Linked DNA regions of Homo sapiens: region 2 is linked to region 1. Evidence: promoter capture Hi-C in human tissues and cell types (Jung and others, 2019). All regions are on one chromosome and are shown on one strand. The core of a region is centred on a gene start or on the middle of the fragment in contact, and the rest is flanking DNA. Distances in the headings are between cores, read along the strand shown. Region 1 holds the start of PPIC (peptidylprolyl isomerase C). Region 2 has its middle 90 kb from the start of CEP120.

What was found. The method cuts DNA at HindIII sites, captures the fragments that hold promoters and counts their contacts. A contact is called where the count stands out against the background at its distance.
Region 2: a contact is called between a fragment that was not itself captured here and the fragment with the promoter of PPIC in region 1, in 2 of the 25 tissues and cell types used here (spleen and stomach).

What each region holds. Positions count from the first base shown.
Region 1 is chr5:123,034,764-123,041,677 of GRCh38, reverse strand. PPIC (peptidylprolyl isomerase C) reads left to right here and starts at 4,953. Exons shown (of 5, transcript NM_000943.5): 1 at 4,953-5,169. The coding sequence starts at 5,053. PPIC-AS1 (PPIC antisense RNA 1) reads right to left here and starts at 5,756. Exons shown (of 2, transcript XR_001742868.2): 1 at 5,390-5,756. RefSeq lists silencers at 4,727-4,776, 6,085-6,257. The HindIII fragment of the contact is 11,652 bases long and covers 1-6,914 here.
Region 2 is chr5:123,330,418-123,336,982 of GRCh38, reverse strand. No RefSeq gene overlaps it. Among named protein-coding and RNA genes, the nearest start is that of CEP120, 90 kb to the left of the region's middle. The HindIII fragment of the contact is 3,696 bases long and covers 799-4,494 here.

The sequences.
Region 1 (6,914 bases), core at 3,704-6,203:
ATAACTACTGAAAGAATAATAAAAGAACATATAATGGACCAATCCAGTAGACGGAGAATTAATATCAGACTTTAAGGCAAAACACATTATTAGAAATAAAGAATGATACTACATAATGATAAGATAATTTAATTAATCAAAAGATAATTTTAGATGTGTTTGCATTCAATAGGGTCTCAAAAATATATAAAGAAACATATAAAGAAAAAATTTACAGACCTACAAGGAGAAATAAACAAACTAGAGTCAATGATGAAATTGATTTTTAACACACTTCTCTCAGTAACTCTTATAACAAGCAGATAAAAGTAAGGATAGAGATATGAATTGATCTAATGAACACATATGTAGAATACTATATCTAACGAGGGCAGAATCAAATAAATTGTTCAGATCCTATGTGATAATGCAAGTCTCTACATATTTTAAAAGAATGAAATAATACAGAATATGTTCTCTGACCACAATACAACTAAGTTAGAAATCACTAACAAAAGGATTTTTTAAAAATCATGTTTGGAAATAAAGTACTATACCTTTATATAACACATGGGTCAAAAAAGAAATAAAAATATAAGTTAGAAATTATTTTCAAAGAATAATGAAAATATGACATATCAAAACGTTCAAGAAGTGCAAGGGGAACTTTATCATTTTAACTGTATACAGAGTACTATATAAAAAAAGGAAGGGCTTTAAAAATTGATGAGTTAAGAGTCTATCCAAGAAGACAGAAAAATAACAGTAAATTAAACTCAAAGAAAGCAGAGAGAAGGAAATAATAAAGTTAGAACATAAATTAATAAGATAAAATATATTGGATTCATCAGCTTCCTTGGTGAAACTGTTCAAGGAAAACAAGAAAAGAAACAACCAATGTCAGGAATGAAAAAGAAGACATTACTACAGGTCCCGCAGACCTACAAAATCATTAAAAAATGTTTTAAACAACTTTATAAAACAATATTTTAAAATATAAATAAAATGGATATATTCCTTGAAAAATACTTCAAGTAAAGGAACAGAATAGAGAATTTGAATAATCTCCAACTATTTTAAAAGTTAAATATATAATTTAGAATGTTACAATAAAGAAAACTCCAGGCTCAGATGGCTTCTAAGAAACATTCAAGGAAGAAATGGTAATCTTACACAAACCCTTTAAGAGTAGGGGAAAAACAGCTACCATTTGCCAACTCATATTAAGAGGCCAGAACAACTCTAATACAAAAGCTGAGAGGAAACTCCAATAAAGGAAAATTTCAGGCTAGTCTCATTCAAGAATTTAGATGCAAATATCCTGAAAATAAGATTAGCAGATTTACCCACTAACACTGAAATGACATGTGGGTGACGAACTCAGTCTCAGCTGGACAGCCAGAGCCACATTTTACCCACTCTTTTCTTCCTGAACTTCAGAAGATAGTCTATATTCAGTTTTTGGCAACTTTGTTAATAAACTGATATTGCCAAACCACATCTAGTAATATATAAAAAGGATAATCCATGTTGGACACATTCCAGAATGTAAGCTTGGGTTAAGATTTGAAAATCAATGCAATTCATCACATTAACAGAGTAAGAGAATCACATAATTATTTCAATTGATTTCAATAGATGATGTTAATAAAATTTAAATCAAATATATGCTAAAAACTCTTAGCAAACAAGGACTAGAAAGGAATTTTCTGAATCTGAAAAAAGATATCCCCCAAAAGGACCTTCAGCAAATATCATGCCTAATGGTGAAACACTGAAGCTTTCCCTCTGACACTGGGACCAAGACAAGGTGTATGAGCCCCCTAGGGCTGCTGTAACAAAGTGCCACAAACTGGGTGACTTCAAACAAGAGAAATGCATTGTCTCACAGTTCTGGAAACTAGCAGCTGAGATCAAGGTGTTGGCAAGGCCATGCTGTCTTTGAAGGCTCTAGGGGCAAATCCTTCCTTGCCTCTTCCTAGCTTCTGGGGGTTGCCAGCAATCTTTGGCATCCCTTGTCTTGTAGATACAGCACTCCAATCTCTGCCTCCATCCTCATATGGTGTTCTCTGTGCGTGTGTCTGTGTCTGTTCCCTTTTTATGAGGACACAAGTCATATTAGAGTAGGGCAAACCCTACTCCAGTATGATTTCATCTTAACTTGATTACGTCTGCAAAGGCAGTCCAAATAAGGTCACATTCACAGATACCAAGGTTTAGGACTTCAATATATCTTTTTGGAGGATAATTCAGTCTACAATACAAGGACTCCCACTGTTGCCACTTCCTTTTGTACTGCAGATCCCAGCCAGTGTAAAAAGGCCAAAAAAGAAATACAAAATGTAAAGATTAGAAAAGAAGAAATAAAACTGTCATTATTCATGGATGACATAATTGTCTATGGAGAAAATCCTAAACAATTCACAGATAAATTATTAGAATATGTTTAACAAGGTTGGTATATACAAAGTTAATATATAAATTAATTTTACTACAATACATGACAATAGCATAAAAAAACACTTAGAAATCAAACTAATAAAATACGTGTAAGACCTCTGGGCAGAAAGCTATAAAATCTTATTGAGAGAAACCAAAGAAGACTTAAATATGCTATGTTCATGAATTAGAAGACTCAATATTGTAAATTTGCCAAGTCTTAAATGGTCTACAGATGCAGTGCAATCCCCATCAAAATCTCAGTGTGTGGAAACTGACAGGCTGATTCTCAAGTTATATGGACATGGAAAAGCTCAAGAACAGCCAAGAATTTGTTGAACAAAGCTAAGAGGGTATGTATTACTGAATATGAAGAGTTATTATAAAGCTATTTTAATGAAGACAATGTAGTATTGGCACAAAGACAGACAAATAGGCCAATGGGACAGATAGGGTGCCCACAAACACACCTATGCATACATGGGCACTTGCTCTGTGACAGAAGAACAGTATGGAGCGGTGAGTTAAAGGGGAGAATTTTCAATAAACTGTACTGAAATAAATGAATATTCTTATGAAAAAAATGAATTTGCTTCCTACTTTGTATTAGCCACCAAAATAGTTATATGCAAAAATATAGATGAATTTCACAAAAATTTAAGCAAAAAGAAATACATACGGTAATACCCTATTCAAATAAAATTAAAACAAAATTAAACTATAGTACAAGAAAAGTCAGGATTGCAGTTAATTTGGGCAGAAAAAAGTGTTTGTAACTGGCAGAGGGTATAAGAGGAGTTTCTAGGGAGCTGGGAAAGATTTCATTTCTTTGCCTAGAGGGTGAGATGGTGGTAGCATAAAAAGTAGTTGGACACATTCATTCATTCAACAAATAGTTATTGAGAAATCACTATATATCAGGCATTGCACTAGATCTGGGTCATCAAAGGGGAATAAATATAGGCCTGATCCCTGCCCTGGCCCTGCTTACTTCTGATAGCAGACAGACAAAAACAATTAATGAACACAGATAAATATATACAATCACCTCACAGTCACCTCGTAGGGTAAGTGCTCTGAGAGATACCCTTGTCTTGCTACACAAGGGGGACTCTTTCCTTATTGGGGGTGGGGATGAAGAGGAAAGCCATTAGGTCTTTCACTGGACTGAATCATAAAAATAGCTCAGAATTGCATTTCTCCTTTTTCTCACCCCAAAGAAGTAGTGGTTACTCCTTTTATCTCTAATGGTTCCAATGTCATTTTAGATCTACACTTAGGTACACCTAGGAATCCCATCTGACATTTAGAAATTCCATCTCTTAATCCGAGGAAAATCTTGGCTTGAAAGTAATGGCACCAGCCCCTTAAAATGGCACCTATGTGCGAATACCACTAATTTTTAGTTAATTTTAGGGCTGTTACTCTAAAACAAAAAAGTTCTTTTGAAATTCTAATTCAAAAAGCAATGAGTTTTAAAATAACCCTTTCCATGTTATAAAATACTTATATGCTCATTGTAGAACATCTGGGAAATCAGAAAACTGTAAAAAAAATTTTTTTAAACCCTCAAAAATCCATAAGTCTATCAATAGCTATCAATTCTATCTATAGCTACTGTAAACGTTGTGGTACATCTCTTTCAATATTTAAGTGCCTTGATATATTTATTTTCACGGTTGAGATCAGAATTTGTGGTTTTGCAACCCGAATTTTCCATTTAAAAATATAATAAGAACTTACTTCCCCAGTCATTAATCTTCCTAAACATAATTCTTAAGTTTGTAAAAAATCCATCCTACAGATACACCTAAAAGTCAGTTTATTTACTTTGTTTCCCCAGGAAAGAATCCTACATGACCATGGTTCTGGGCCTGTGTAAGTGCTGCCTTGTGAACAGTGTAGATAAGATCACAGAATCATCCTCCAAATAAAGTACTTAAAGCCAATGTAAAAGTTTTTCGAAGGCAAAGGGGCACTGTGAATCCAGCATTTTCCAGTGTTCCCTAGACGTGAATCATCTCAAAGAGAGGCCATTATTCGAGTGCAACAGGGCTCCACGCCTCCAGCGATGTCAAAGTTCTGCTAAGCGTCCAAAACCTAGCAAAAGGTTCCAATGGGCCATTGGAACTCGGCGGCCGCGGCGGAGGCTGCTCCCAAGGCGGCAGCAATCACACCGGGACCGGCTGCAGAGTTCCCAGTCCCGCGGAGCGCTAGCTGCCGGGCGGACGCGGAAGCCCGAGAGTCCTGGTCTTCCCGTCCAAGTTTAATCCGCGCCTACGCGGTAAATTCCTGGAGGTGCTCCCAGCCTAGCCCGCTGCGCCCGGCTCCGCGCCTGGGCAACCCGGGCTCCCTCCCGTCCCTGGCGCCCTCCGCACCCGCCTAAGGCGCGGCGGTCGAGCCCTGGCTGCGCCCTGTGGGCGCGCTCCTCCGAATCCCAAGTTCGGGTCGCGAGTCTGAACTTGGGAGGAACGCGCCCCGGGTCCCCGCCCTTCCCGGACTGCCCGATCCCCATCCCCCGCAACCGGGAGCGCGCAGGCGCAGCCGGCCGGCAGTCCCGTCAGCTGTCCCAGAGCCTGTGTCGCGCCCGTGCCGGTAGCGCCCGTGCCGGTAGCGCCGCTGCCACCGCTCACCATGGGCCCGGGTCCTCGGCTGCTGCTACCTCTCGTGCTTTGCGTGGGGCTCGGCGCACTTGTGTTTTCTTCGGGGGCCGAGGGCTTCCGCAAGCGAGGCCCCTCGGTGACGGCCAAGGTGACCGAGAGCGGCGGGCTGCAACTTCCCCTGTTGCGGGCGGGGCCCTGGGGGCGCTTTGGATACTGGGACCTCGGTGTCAGGGCGGGCGAGGTGGAGGCTTCCCGGGCGCAGGGGGACTGGAGGCGGCCGCGGGACTGGGTGGGAGGGGGCTGCTCGCGTGCTGGGAGGCCGGCGCTCCGGGGGAGACCCTGGGGGAGCTGGGCTGAGGCCAGCCTACCTCCGCCGCAGTCTGCTTGGACTTCTTGTCCCGGGTCGGTAGTCCGAGGTGACCAGCCTGGGGGTAGGAGAGGCTTCCGGAACCGGCGGGCCCGTTCTCCAGGAAAGAGACTGCCCAAGTACTTCCTTCAGCGTGGCCTGGGCTCGGGAGCAGAACGAGAGGAATGCGGGGAGGGGGGCGGGACCCGCACAGGAGAGGCGCTCGGAGCCCAGGGCTTGCAGCCGCCCGCCCGCTGCGTGGTCTCCACGCTGGCCGCGGTGGCTTCAGGCAGGCATTAAAGCGCCTGGTTCAGATGAGAGACTACCCTCCGCCTCTTTTGGGGAACCGTCGTCCTTCCCGGGAAGGGGAGGTGCGCCTTCAACTTCGGCGGGCGGGCGGCCCCTGCTGTGGGCTACGCGAGGCCGGGCGAAGGCGGCACCTGTAGACCTGGGGCAGCCTCCACTGCGGGGAAAGGGGGCGGGGGGCTGCCAGAAAGTGCGTCTTTAAGGCTTCCTCGTACTTAACTCCGCTTCAGTTCTTTTTTCAGCGTATTTAACCAAGGGTAGACGATAATGGGAGAATGCAGGGAGAGGGAGGGGATAATTTGGTGCCCATGATCACCACTTCTAGAAAACCCACTGGCAATAGTGTCTTCGAAGCTGAAGCTGGAGGGGGCGGGCTGCAGCTGAAAGTGGTCTTCATCAGTCTGGGGTTTGTCAATGGAAACGATACTAATCAACGAGTAGAATGCTTACATCCTCGACCGCAGACGCCACCTGAGGACGGGGAGGACTAGGGGGTGGGGAGGAGGAGGTCCAGCTCAGCATCTGATGTCGCAGAAAGGCCGTGCCACGTTGTGGGCGGGGCTGATAAACAGCCTGATGGTTTCGAGAAGCTCTGATCTTACTCCCAGCCTCTTGATCTTGTAGGCATGTCTAACTTTGGGAAATGGTTTGTGCAAGGCCACAGAGCTGAACGGGGTCTCTTGGGATAAAGCCATAAACATAAAATTCGCACAATTATGAAATGTTGGAGGAAATAAACTGTAATATACTTTGGGTGACATTTAAAAATAGCTGAAAAATGAGAAAAACCAGCGCAGAGAAGACTAAGGAGGCAAAGGGAACTGCATATGCATAGGTCCTCAAACAGGAAAGCCCTCCCTGCATTCAGAGGATGTGGAGAGGACGGAATGGCTTCAGCACAGAATGAGAGGTGACTTGAGATGAGGTTGGAGGGGTGAGCAGCAGCGGAATCACACAGGGCCTTAGAGGCTGCAGGTAGGCATGCGGGTATTGAGGCAATTCTTAAAATTTGAAGTGTTATTCTGCAGTCAGAGCCACTGAAGGGTTTTAAGCATAAGAATGGCATGATCTCAATATATACTCGAGAAATTTATGTGGTCACTCAGTGGAGAGTGAAATGGGAGGTCATTCAGGGCACCATGCCAGAGTCCAGATGGTGGCTTGGATTAGGGTGGTAATCATTGAAATGGGGAGCAAGGGAAGGACTTGAAATAGATTTTGGAGATATAACTAACAGGAGT
Region 2 (6,565 bases), core at 1,397-3,896, 300 kb before region 1:
CTCCACCTCCCAGGTTCACGCCATTCTCCTGCCTCTGGAGTAGCTGGGACTATAGGCACCTGCCACCACGCCCAGCATGTACTTTTCCACATAAGTAGATTTTCCAGATAACTGAGGCTTAGTATTTACTCCATTGGAAACTGCTTATTTTAACCATTTTAAAAGTAAACCTTTAAAAAATGTATCACAGCCTCCTTTGAATGTTGAATCAAAGACTACAGAAACTGAGTTACCTTTTCTATATATCACAGACTACCATGACAGGCAGCTGCAGCAGAGGGGAAAAAGTATTATATTTGGAGTTATTTGATATTATGTTCAGGTTTATAGCTTGCTTCCTTTCACAGGTAATTTGAGGCGCTTTGCGAAATTATATTTAATTCAAAAGGAAAAGAACAAATTATCGAAGGAAAGAGAAAATACAGATTAGCAAGTACTAAAGCTAGGGAAAATATTAGTGAACTGGAATATTGTCATAATCAATGCTCTTATTGTAAGTGACAGAAATCCATTTTGAAATCGCTAAGCACCAAATAGAAAATAATTGCCATGTAAAAACGATGGCAGTAATGAAGAATGGTGGAAATGGTATTGAGATTAATACCATGAGGACCCTCTCTGTATGCTCTTGCTTCTGATTCTCTGTGTTTGCAGGCTTCTTTCCTTCACTGCATTAAGGGAGTGAGAAAAAAATAAGAACATAGAAGACCTAAATATTATTATTATTATTATTATTTTGAGACAGAGTCTTGCTCTGTCACCCAGGCTGGAGTAAAATGGCACGATCTCAACTCACTGCAACCTCCGCCTCCCGAGTTCAAATGATTCTCCTGCCTCAGCCTCCCAAGTAGCTGGGATTATGGGCACCCGCCACCATGCCTGGCTTATTTTTGTATTCTTTAGTTAAGATGGGGTTTCACCATGTTGGTCAGGCTGGTCTCGAACTCCTGACCTCAGGTGATCCACCCGTCTAAGCCTCCCAAAGTGCTGGGATTACAGGTGTGAGCCACCACACCTGGCACTAAATATTATTAAAAGGCATAATTTGCAGATATGCATTCTATAATCAGAGAACAGAAAATCAACCTTTACAAGATTACTTGAAATATTCAGAAAAAATGAGCATATATTAGTCCGTCGAAAATATTAAATTCTAAAAATATTGAGTAGAGGGTGGCTGGTAAGATGGCCAAATAGAGACAGCTCTGGTCTGCAGTTCCCAGTGAGATCAATGCAGAAGGCGGGTGATTTCTGCATTTCCAACTGAGGTACCTGGCTCATCCCATTGGGACTGATTAGACAGTGTCTATAGCCCACAGAGGGTGAGCAGAAGCAGGGTGGGGTGTTGCCTCACCTAGGCAGTGCAAGGGATCGGGGAACTCCCTCCCCTAGCCAAAGGAAGCCATGAGGGACTGTGCTGTGAGGAACAGTGCATTCCAGCCCAGATACTATGCTTTTTCCATGGTCTTCACAACCCTCAGACCAGCAGATTCTCTGTGGTGCCTATGCCACCAGGGCCCTGGGTTTCAAGCACAAAACCGGGCGGCCATTTGGGCAGACACCGCGCTAGCTGCTGGAGTTCCTTTTCATACCCCAGTGGTGTCTGGAATGTCAGCAAGACAGAACTGTTCACTCCCCTGGAAAGGGGGCTAAAGCCAGGGAGCCAAGTGGTCTAGCTCAGTGGATCCCACCCCCACAGAGACCAGCAAGATAAGATCCACTGGTTTGAAATTCTCGCTGCCAGCACAGCAGTCTAAAGTTGACCTGAGATGCTCCAGCTTGGTGGGGGGAGAGGTGTCCGCCATTTCTGGGGCTTGAGTAGGTGGTTTTCCCCACACGTTATAAATAAAGCCACCAGGAAGTTTGAACTGGGCAGAGCCCATCACAGCCTGGCAAAGCCGCTGTAGCCAGACTGCCTCTCTAGATTCCTCCTCTCTGGGCAGGGCATCTCTGAAAGAAAGGTAGCAGCCCCACTCAGGGCTTATAGATCAAACTCTCATCTCCCTGGGACAGAGCACCTAGGGGAAGGGGCGGCTGTGGGTGCAGCTTCAGCAGACTTAAATGTTCCTGCCTGACAGCTCTGAAGAGAGCAGCAGAGCTGCCAGCACAGTTCTTGGGCTCTTCTAAGGGACAGACTGCCTCCTCAAGTGGGTCCCTGACCCCCGTGAATCCTGACTGGGAGACACCTCCCAGCAGGGGTTGACAAACACCTCATACAGGAGAGCTCTGGCTGGCATCTGGCAGGTGCCCCTCTGGGACAAAGCTTCCAGAGGAAGGAACAGGCAGCAATCTTTGCTGTTCTGCAGCCTCCACTGGTGATACCCAGGCAAACAGGGTCTGGAGTGGACCTCCAGCAAACTCCAGCAGACCTGCAGCAGAGGGGCCTGACTGGTAGAAGGAAAACTAACAAACAGGAATAGCATCAACATCAACAAAAAGGACATTCACAACAAAACCCAATCCAAAGGTCACCACATCAAAGACTTTGGTATTTGATAAATCTTTGGAGATAAATCCATGAAGATGGGGAGAAACCAGCACAAAAATGCTAAAAATTCCCAAAACCAGAAAGTCTCTTCTCCAAAAGATCACAACTCCTCTCCAGCAAGAGAATAAAACTGGATGGAGAATGAGTTTGATGAAGTGACAGAGTAGGCTTCAGAAGGTGGGTAATAACAAACTCCTTCAAGCTAAAGAAGCATGTTCTAACCAAAAGCAAGAAAGCTAAGAAATTTGAAAAAAGGTTAGATGAATTGCTAACTAGAATAACCAGTTTAGAGAAGAATATAAATGACCTGATAGAGCTGAAAAACACAGCACGAGGACATCATGAAGCATACACAAGCATCAATAGCCAAATCGATCAAGCAGAAGAAAGGATATCAGAGATTGAGGATCATCTTAATGAAATAAAGCAGGAAGAGAAGGTTAGAAAAAACAGAATGAAAAGGAATGAACCAAAGCCTCCAAGAAATATGTGACTGTGTGAAAAGACCAAACCTATGTTTGATTGGTGTACCTGAAAGTGATGGGGAAAATGGAACAAAGGTGGAAAACACTCTTCAGGATATTATCCAGGAGAACTTTCCCAACCTAGCAAGACAGGCCAACATTCAAATTCAGGAAATACAGAGAACAACACAAAGATACTCCTCGAGAAGAGCAACCCCAAGACACATAAACATCAGATTCACCAAGGTTGAAATGAAGGAAAAAATGTTAAGGGTAGCCAGAGAGAAAAGTCAGGTTATCCACAAAGGGAAGCCTATTAGACTAACAGCAGATCTCTCTGCAGAAACCCTGCAAGCCAGAAGAGAGTGGGGCCAATATTCAACATTCTTAAGGGAAGAATTTACCCAGAATTTCATATCCAGCCAAACTAAGCTTCATAGGCAAAGGAGAAACAAAATCCTTTACAGACAAGCAAACGCTGAGAGATTTTGTCACCACCAGGCCTGCCTTACAAGAGCTCCTGAAGGAAGCACTAAACATGGAAAGGAACAACTGGTACCAACAACTGCAAAAACATACCAAATTGTAAAGACCATTGACACTATGAAGAAACTGAATCAACTAACAGGCAAAATAACCAGCTAGCATCATGATGACATGATCAAATAATAATATTAACCTTAAATGTACCTGCACTAAATGCCCCCAATTAAAAGAAACAGACTGGCAAATTGGATAAATAGTCAAGTCCCATGGGTGTGCTGTACTCAGGAGACCCATCTCACATGCAAAGACACACATAGGCTCAAAATAAAGGGATGGAGGAAAAGTTACCAAGCAAATGGAAAGAAAAAAAAGGGGGGGATGTTGAAATCCTAGTCTTTGATAAAACAGACTTTAAACCAACAAAGATCAAAAGAGACAAAAAGGGGCATTACAGAATGGTAAAAGGGATCAATGTAACAAGAACAGCTAACTATCCTAAATATATATGCACCTATTACAGGAGAACCCAGATTCATAAAGCAAGTTCTTAGATACCTACAAAGAGACTTAGACTCCCACACAATAATAATGGGAGACTTTAACACCCCAATATTTCTGTCAATATTGGAAAATTAACAAGGATATCCAGGACTTGAACTCAGCTCTGGGCCAAGCAGACCTGATAGACATCTACAGAACTCTCCACCCCAAATCAACAGAATATACATTCTTCTCAACACCACATTGCACTTATTCTAAAATTGGCCACATAACTGGAAGTCAAACACTCCTCAGCAAATGCAAAAGAAGAGAAATCATAACAAACAGTGTCTCAGAACACAGTGCAATCAAATTAGAACTCAGTATTAAGAAACTCACTAAAAACTGCACAACTACATGGAAACTGAGCAATCGGCTCCTGAATGACTGCTGGGTAAATAACAAAATGAAGACAGAAATAAAGATGTTCTTTGAAACCAATGAGAACAAAGACACAATATACCAGAATCTCTGGGACACATTTAAAGCAGTGCAGAGGAGGAAATATATAGCACTAAATATCCACAAGAGAAAGCAGGAAAGATCTAAAATTGACACCCTAACATCACAATTAAAAGAACTAGACAAGCAAGAGCAAGCAAATTCAAAAGCTAGCAGAAGACAAGAAATAACTAAGATCAGAGCAGAACTGAAGGAGATAGACAAACGAAAAACCATTCAAGAAATCAATAAATACAGGAGCTGGGTTTTTTTTTTAAGATTAACAAAATAGAACCCTAGTCAGACTAATAAAGAAAAGAGAGATGAATTAAATACATGCAAAAAAAAATGATAAAGGGAATATCACCATTAATCCCACGGAAATACAAACTACCATCACAGAATGTTATAAACACCTCTATACAAATAAACTAGAAAATCTAGAAGAAATGGATAAATTCCTGGACACATACACCCTCTCAAGACTAAACCAGGAAGAAGCCAAATCTCTGAATAGACCAATAACAAGTTCTGAATTGAGGCAGTAATTAATAGCCTACCAACCAAAAAAGTCCAGGACCAGACAGATTCACAGCCGAAATCTACCAGAGGTACAAAGAAGAGCTGGTACCATTTCTTCTGAAACTATACCAAACAATATAAAAAGAGAGAATCCTCCCTAACTCATATTACGAGGCCAACATCATCCTGATACCAAAACCTGGCAGAGACATAACAAAAAAAGAAAATTTCAGGCTAATATTCCTGGTGAATATAAATGGAAAAATCCTCAATAAAATACTGGCAAACTGAATCCAGCAGCACATCAAAAAGTTTATCCAGCATGATCAAGTCAGCTTCATCCCTGGGATGCAAGGCTGGTTCCACATACACAAATCAATAAAAGTAATCCATCACATAAACAGAACCAATGACAAAAACCACCTGATTATCTCAATAGATGCAGAAAAACCTTTCAACAAAATTCAACACCCCATTCATGCTAAAAACTCTCAATAAGCTAGATATTGATGGAACATATCTCAAAATAATAAGAGCTATTTATGACAAACCCACAACCGATGTCATACTGAATGGGCAAAAACTGGAAGCATTCCCTTTGAAAACCAGCACAACATAAGGATGCCCTCTCTCACCACTCCTATTCAGCATAGTATTGGAAGCTTTGGCCAGGCAATCAGGCAAGAGACAGAAATAAAGGGTTTTCAATTAGAAAAAGAAGAAGTCAAATTGTCTCTGTTTGCAGATGACATGATTGTATATTTAGAAAACCCAGTTGTCTCAGTCCTAAATCTTCTTACGTTGATAAGCAACTTCAGCAAAGTCTCAGGATATAAAATCAACGGCAAAAATCACAAGCATTCCTATACACCAATAACAGACAAACAGAGAGCCAAATCATGAGTGAACTCACACTTACAATTGCTAGAAAGTGAATAAAATACCTAAGAATACAACTTACAAGGTGAAGGACCTCTTCAAGGAGAACTACAAACCACTGCTCAAGGAAATAAGAGAGGACACTAACAAATGGAAAAAACTCCATGCCCATGGATAGAAAGAATCAATATCGTGAAAATGGGTATACTGCCCAAAGTAATTTATAGATTCAATGCTATCCCCATCAAGCTACCATTGACTTTCTCCACAGAATTGGAAAAAACTACTTTAAATTTCATATTAAACCAAAAAACAGCCTGCATAGCCTAGACACTCCTAAGGAAAAAAAAAAAAAAAAAGTAAAGCTGGAGGCATCATGCTACCTGACTTCAAACTATACCACCAGGCTACACTAACCAAAACAGCATGGTACTGGTACCAAAACAGATATACAGACCAATGGAACAGAACAGAGGCCTCAGAAATAGCACCACACATCTACAACCATCTGATCTTTGACAAACCTGACAAAAAAAAAAGCAATGGGAAAAGGATTCTCTATTTAATAAGTGGTGTTGGGAAACCTGGCTAGCCATTTGCAGAAAGCTGAAACTGGATTCGTTCCTTATACCTTATACAAAAATTAACTCAAGATGGATTAAAGACTTAAACATAAGACCTAAAACCATAAAAACCCTAGAAGAAAACCTAGGCAATACCATTCAGGACATTGGCATAGGCAAAG